Linked DNA regions of Homo sapiens: region 1 is linked to region 2. The links are contacts of gene promoters, found by promoter capture Hi-C in human tissues and cell types (Jung and others, 2019). All regions are on one chromosome and are shown on one strand. Each heading gives the region's core, a stretch centred on a gene start or on the middle of the fragment in contact. The rest is flanking DNA. Distances are from core to core; before and after follow the strand shown.

Region 1 (2,700 bases), core at 168-2,667, 510 kb after region 2:
AGCCGAGATCGTACCACTGCACTCCAGCCTGGGTGACAGGGCGAGACTCTGTCCCAAAAAAAAAAAAAAAAAAAAAAAAAGGTGATTAGGTCACGAGGAATCTGCCCTGTGATTACTTCAGAAGGGGGTTAGTTATCTCAAGAGTGGCCTTGCTGTAAAAACCAGTCTGGGCCTCTCTTGTTCTCTTGCAACATGATCTCGTCCACCATGTTATGATGCTGCAAGAAGGCCCTTACCAGATGCAGCCCCTCAGCCTTAGACTTCCCAGCCTCCAGAACCAGGAGTCAAATAAACTTCTATTGTTTATAAACTACCCAGTCTAACTTACTTGCAACACAAAACTATTATACTAAGCCGGATACCAAAGGCTACTTATGATACGATTTCCATATACAAATGTCTATATAGGACAATCCATAGAGACAGAAAGCAGATTAGTGGCTGCCAGGGGCTGAGGGAGGGGTAATGGGGAGTAACTGCCCATGGGGACAGGGTTTCTACTTGGCGTGATGAAAATGTTCTGGAATTGGGTAGTGGTGATGTTTACACAAGGTTGTGAACCACTGAACTGCACACTTTAAAGGGGTGAATTTCATGGTGTGTGACTTATAGCTCTAATTTTTGCTTTGTTTTGTTTTTTGGAGACAGAGTCTCGCTCTATCCCCCAGGCTGGAGTGCAGTGATGCAATCTTGGCTCACTGCAACTTCTACCTCCCAGGTTCAAGCAATTCTCATGCCTCAGCCTCCCAAGTAGCTGGGATTACAGGTGTGCACCATCACATCCGGCTAATTTTTGGTAGAGATGGGGTTTTGCCATGTTGGCCAGGCTGGTCTCGAACTCCTGACCTCAGGTGATCCACCAGCCTCGGCCTCCCAAAGTGCTGGGATTACATGCAAGAGCCACCACACCTGGCCCTCTAATTTTTTAAGAGAAATTAGAACAAATCTTTTTCTGAAACCAAAGGAAAGTAGGAGAGGAGGGCTAGAAAGTGAAAATAGAAGAGAAGCTAAAGGAACTTGAGAAACCTCACTCCGAATGGCCTTCGATGTCCCCTCAGAACAAAGGGCCTTTGAAAATGCTCTTGACACTTCCCAAGGCACACCACCCAACCAGGGGGGTCGGGGGATCCACAGCCTGCCTGGTACTCACCAACACCTGTGGCACGGAGAATCCCTCGTTCTGTTGCCTTTGGCTCTGCTCTTTGCCCCAGCTGGGAGACACAACTGGGTTTGCATGGTGGAGTTCCTGCACATGAAGAAAGACACAGGCACTGAGAGAGAGAGGGCTTGCAGGGGAAAACAAACTCTTGTTTCTCAACTCAAACTCTCCTTCAGCTTCAATATGGGCTTCAGATTCTCTGGGCTGAGCAAGTGTGATGGGTAGCAAAGGGATCTTGCCCAATAGCTAATGAACTCAGGACCCAACCCACAAACACCCTCCCCTCTGCCCCAAGGGGCTGAGGCTGTCTCACCTCAGAAGCCTGGGGCCAAATTCAAGGAGACCCAAACAGGGCCTTACTACAGAGGGAAAGAAGTCAATGCAACAGATGAAGCTTTGTCATCCTGTGGACGCTAAGTGCCACAAAGCCTAAGCCACGTCTGTCTTCTTCACATGGCAGGCGCTTAAGAAGCATTTAGTGCCTGCGTACAGGAAGGAGCCAGGTGACGCCAGCCTTACCCCTGGAGGCCAGGGTCCTGCACTGGTCAAGCATCCTGTATTTGCACAGGCTCCTCCGTGCGCTGTCCAGCAATGCCCACTCCTGGATGAACTCCACGGCCACATCCTCAAAGGTGACGGATTCCTAAAACAGCACACACATTCTGGCTCGGCAAATACCACCCCCACCACTGAGCAGAACGACTGGTTATCACTGGAGAAGAGAAAATGTTCAGACACAGCAGGCATGGAAAATCCAGCCTAAAGCCTATTTTTGTAAATAATGTTTTCTTGGCACACAGCCACGTGCATTTATTTACAATGCATCAATGGCTGTTTTGAGGCCACAACGGCAGAACTGAATAGTTGTGACAGAGATCACATGGGCCACCAAGCTGAAATGTTTACTTTCTTTTAACATTTGGATAAATCCTAAAGTGTAAAGTTATGGCTCTCTGTGTAACTCCACTGACTTGTGATGGCAGAGCCTGTCCCTCCCTGCTTAGAGAGTTTTTCCTAAACTCCTTATTACAAATTGGCACAGCATCACAAATTTGGGATTGAAAGCTTAATTTCTGTGAAGTCCCTGGGATCCCCCAAGACTTACGTCCTTAATTATATACTTGTGAAAGTAGGACTTCCATTGCATCTGAGAGTCTTTTTCTTTTTTTCTTTTTTTTTTTTGAGACAGTCTTGCTCTGTCGTCCAGGCTGGAGTGCAGTGGCGCCATCTCGGCTCACTGCAACCTTCACCTCCTGGGTTCAAGCGATTTTCCTACCTCAGCCTCCCAAGTAGCTGGGATTACAGGCACGTGCCACACACCCAGCTAACTTTTTGTATTTTTAGTAGAGACAGAGTTTCACCATGTTGGCCAGGCTGGTCTTGAACTCCCAGCCTCAAGTGATCTGCCCGCCTCGGCCTCCCAAAGTGCTGGGATTACAGGCATGAGCCACCACGCCCGGCCTCATCTGAGAATCCTTTTAATTGCAGAATTCTTCAGAGCAGTGCTGTCCAACAGACATCACTCTCTGATGATGGGAATG
Region 2 (2,725 bases), core at 95-2,594:
AGTTGCCTGTAGTCCCAGCTACTCGGACGGCTGAGGCAGGAGAATGGTGTGAACCCAGGAGGCGGAACTTGCAGTGAGCGGAGATCATGCCACTGCACTTCAGCCTGGGCAACAGAGCGAGACTCCGTCTCAAAAACAAACAAACAAGTAAACAAAAACCCAGAAAAAATTAGCCACGTATGGTGGCGCACACCTCTAATCCCAGCTACTTGGCAGATTGTGGGGGTGGGGGCTGAGGAAGGAGAATCGCTTGAACCTGGGAGGTAGAGCTTGCAGTGAGCCAAGATAGGGACACTGCACTCCAGCCTGGGTGACAGAGCGACACGCTGTCTCAAAAAAAAAAAAAAAAAGAAAAGAGAATTAATCAAATTGAGCCAGATAGGCTGAGGCCCAAAGCTGTGTGGGGTATGGGGGTGGGACTAGGGGGCTGGGGTGACCCTTTGAGAGTCACAGAGGAAGTGGGTTGCTTTCTGGGAGGGCTGAGAGCAAGAAGAGTTTGTGTGTGCATGTGTGAACACACACACATGCATGTGACTCCTAGTACGTGTCTGAGGTCTGAGGCTGCAAATGTAGTCCTAGGCTCCTGGCCTGGCTGAGTGAGTTTTAGCGGTTTTTTGTTTGTTTGTTTTGTTTGAGACAGGGTCTTACTCTGTTGCCCAGGCTGGAGCGCAGTGGTACGATTTCGGCTAAGTGCAACCTCAGCCTCCTGGGTTGAAGCGATTTTCCTGCTTCAGCCTCTCGAATAGCTGGGACTACAGGCGTGCGCCACCACGCTCAGCTAATTTTTGTATTTTCAGTAGAGTCCGGGTTTCACCATGTTGGCCAGGCTGGTCTCCAACTCTTGACCTCAAGTGATCCATCCACCTCTGCCTCTCAAAGTGCTGGGATTACAGGCCGGAGCCACCGCGCCCGGTCCGACTTTTAGGTTTGTGAATGTTTTAGATCAGAGTCCTGGGGAAGCTTGGTGCATGGGCTTGCATTTGTGCGTCCGTGGCTGTGGGTCCATGAGCCTCTCAGGACGTGACTGGCCTCAGTTTCCAGAGTTTCTGGGAGGCTGTGTTTTTTGTCCCGGCTCCAGAGGTGTCCGGCTCTGGGTGTGTACTGGGGGATGGGGATGGGGTGCGTGGGCGTTCACGAGGTTGGGTGTGCCCGCCACTCCGGGTTCTGCCCGCGTCTCACTGCATGCTCGGCCTGGGTTTCCGAGGGTCCGCGCGTCCCAGGCTGTGCGGGTGGAGGGTGGGCAGGGACCCCGGGAGGCCGGGCGGGGGGCGGGGGCGCGCTGGGCCGGCCCCGGGGCGGGGCGAGCCTTCGAGGGCTGGGGGCGGGGCGGCCCGGCCGCCTCACTTCGGCGAAGTTGGCGGCGCGGAGGCTGGCCCGGGACGCGCCCGGAGCCCAGGGAAGGAGGGAGGAGGGGAGGGTCGCGGCCGGCCGCCATGGGGCCGGGGGCCCGTGGCCGCCGCCGCCGCCGTCGCCCGATGTCGCCGCCACCGCCACCGCCACCCGTGCGGGCGCTGCCCCTGCTGCTGCTGCTAGCGGGGCCGGGGGCTGCAGGTGAGGGGCCGGGACCTGGCGGATGGGACGAGGGCGGCAGAGGGGGAGTGCAAGAACCCCCAAGGCCGGGGCTGGCGGGGGTTCATGGGAGGCAGGAACCAGGGTCGGGGAAGGGGCGCAGGAGCCCCGGGCTTCATGCCAGTCCTGGAGGACCCAGAGATTCAGAATGGGGAGGACCCCAGAGGCCCAAGGAACAGGGACCCTTGAGCGATTAGAGCTGAAGATGAAGGGACCCAGGAGTCCGAGACTGGGAGCTCGAGGTGCGGGGATCAGGGACTCGAGGTGGGGGGGTGCGTACAGAGTTCGGGACTCGTCCCCATCCAACTCACGCCTGGAGTCCTGGGTAGGTTATGATTGGGGGCCCAGGTACTTCTAGGCCGGGGACCTCTCGCACAAAAGCCCCCCCACCCCGCCCCCGACACCCCGGGCGGGCTGGGCCAGGCGGGGGGTGGGGAGGGGGCGCGAAGTTCTGGGAGCTCTGAACTCGGAGAAAACTTCCCAGGCCGGCGCGCAGCAAGACCCGGAGCCGGATTCCGAGCCGGAGCCTCGGCGGCGCGCGCGCCCCCTCCCCCGCCCGCAGCCCGCCTCTCTCCTCTGGCCGCGGGGACCCGGAGGCCCTGGGACCCCGCCCCTGCGCGGGGAGGGGAAGGGGCGAGGGCCCACGTGCTCCCCTTCGGCTCCAGCGCCCCCTCCCCGCGGCCAGAGCCCCTCCCCAGCCGGCCAGGGGCCCCCGCCCCTCCTCCTCTCCTCCCTCCCCTCCCCCGCTCGGGACAATGGCCGCGCCGTCTAGACACCCCCTCCCTCCGGCCGGCCTCGCGCTTTCTTTGCCAGACAAAGCGGGACCCGCGGCTGGGCCGGGGAGGGGGCTGCGGGGGCACCCCCCTCACCGCTACGGGAGGCCTGGTGGGCGGGGGAGGGGCGCGGGCCAAGGCCCCTGGCCAGGGGTCCCAGACGCCAGTGTGGGGCTTGGCGCTGGGCGGGGTGGGGGTTTCGGGAGTGAACGGCCTCCCCAGCCCAGCCCCGGGGCCCGGACGGGGCAGGACCAGGCAGGAGCCGCCGCCTCCGCCGGACCAGCGGCGCACACACATGGCCTGTGACACACTCGCTGGCACACATAGCTCTAGGTCACGTAACAGAGATGCAAACCTGCACACACACAGCACACTCGCAGACT

Evidence for each region. Contacts are between HindIII fragments. The study calls those that stand out against the background at their distance.
Region 1: a contact is called between a fragment that was not itself captured here and the fragment with the promoter of NOTCH3 in region 2, in 2 of the 25 tissues and cell types used here (mesendoderm cells and thymus).

What each region holds. Positions count from the first base shown.
Region 1 is chr19:14,694,112-14,696,811 of GRCh38, reverse strand. It overlaps ZNF333 (zinc finger protein 333), which reads right to left. Exons shown (of 12, transcript NM_032433.4): 3 at 1,679-1,802; 4 at 1,151-1,246. Among named protein-coding and RNA genes, the nearest start is that of ZNF333, 5.4 kb to the right of the region's middle. The HindIII fragment of the contact is 5,396 bases long and covers 1-2,700 here.
Region 2 is chr19:15,199,614-15,202,338 of GRCh38, reverse strand. It overlaps NOTCH3 (notch receptor 3), which reads left to right and starts at 1,344. Exons shown (of 33, transcript NM_000435.3): 1 at 1,344-1,551. The coding sequence starts at 1,434. RefSeq lists enhancers at 460-959, 960-1,461 and a silencer at 2,048-2,274. The HindIII fragment of the contact is 7,500 bases long and covers 1-2,725 here.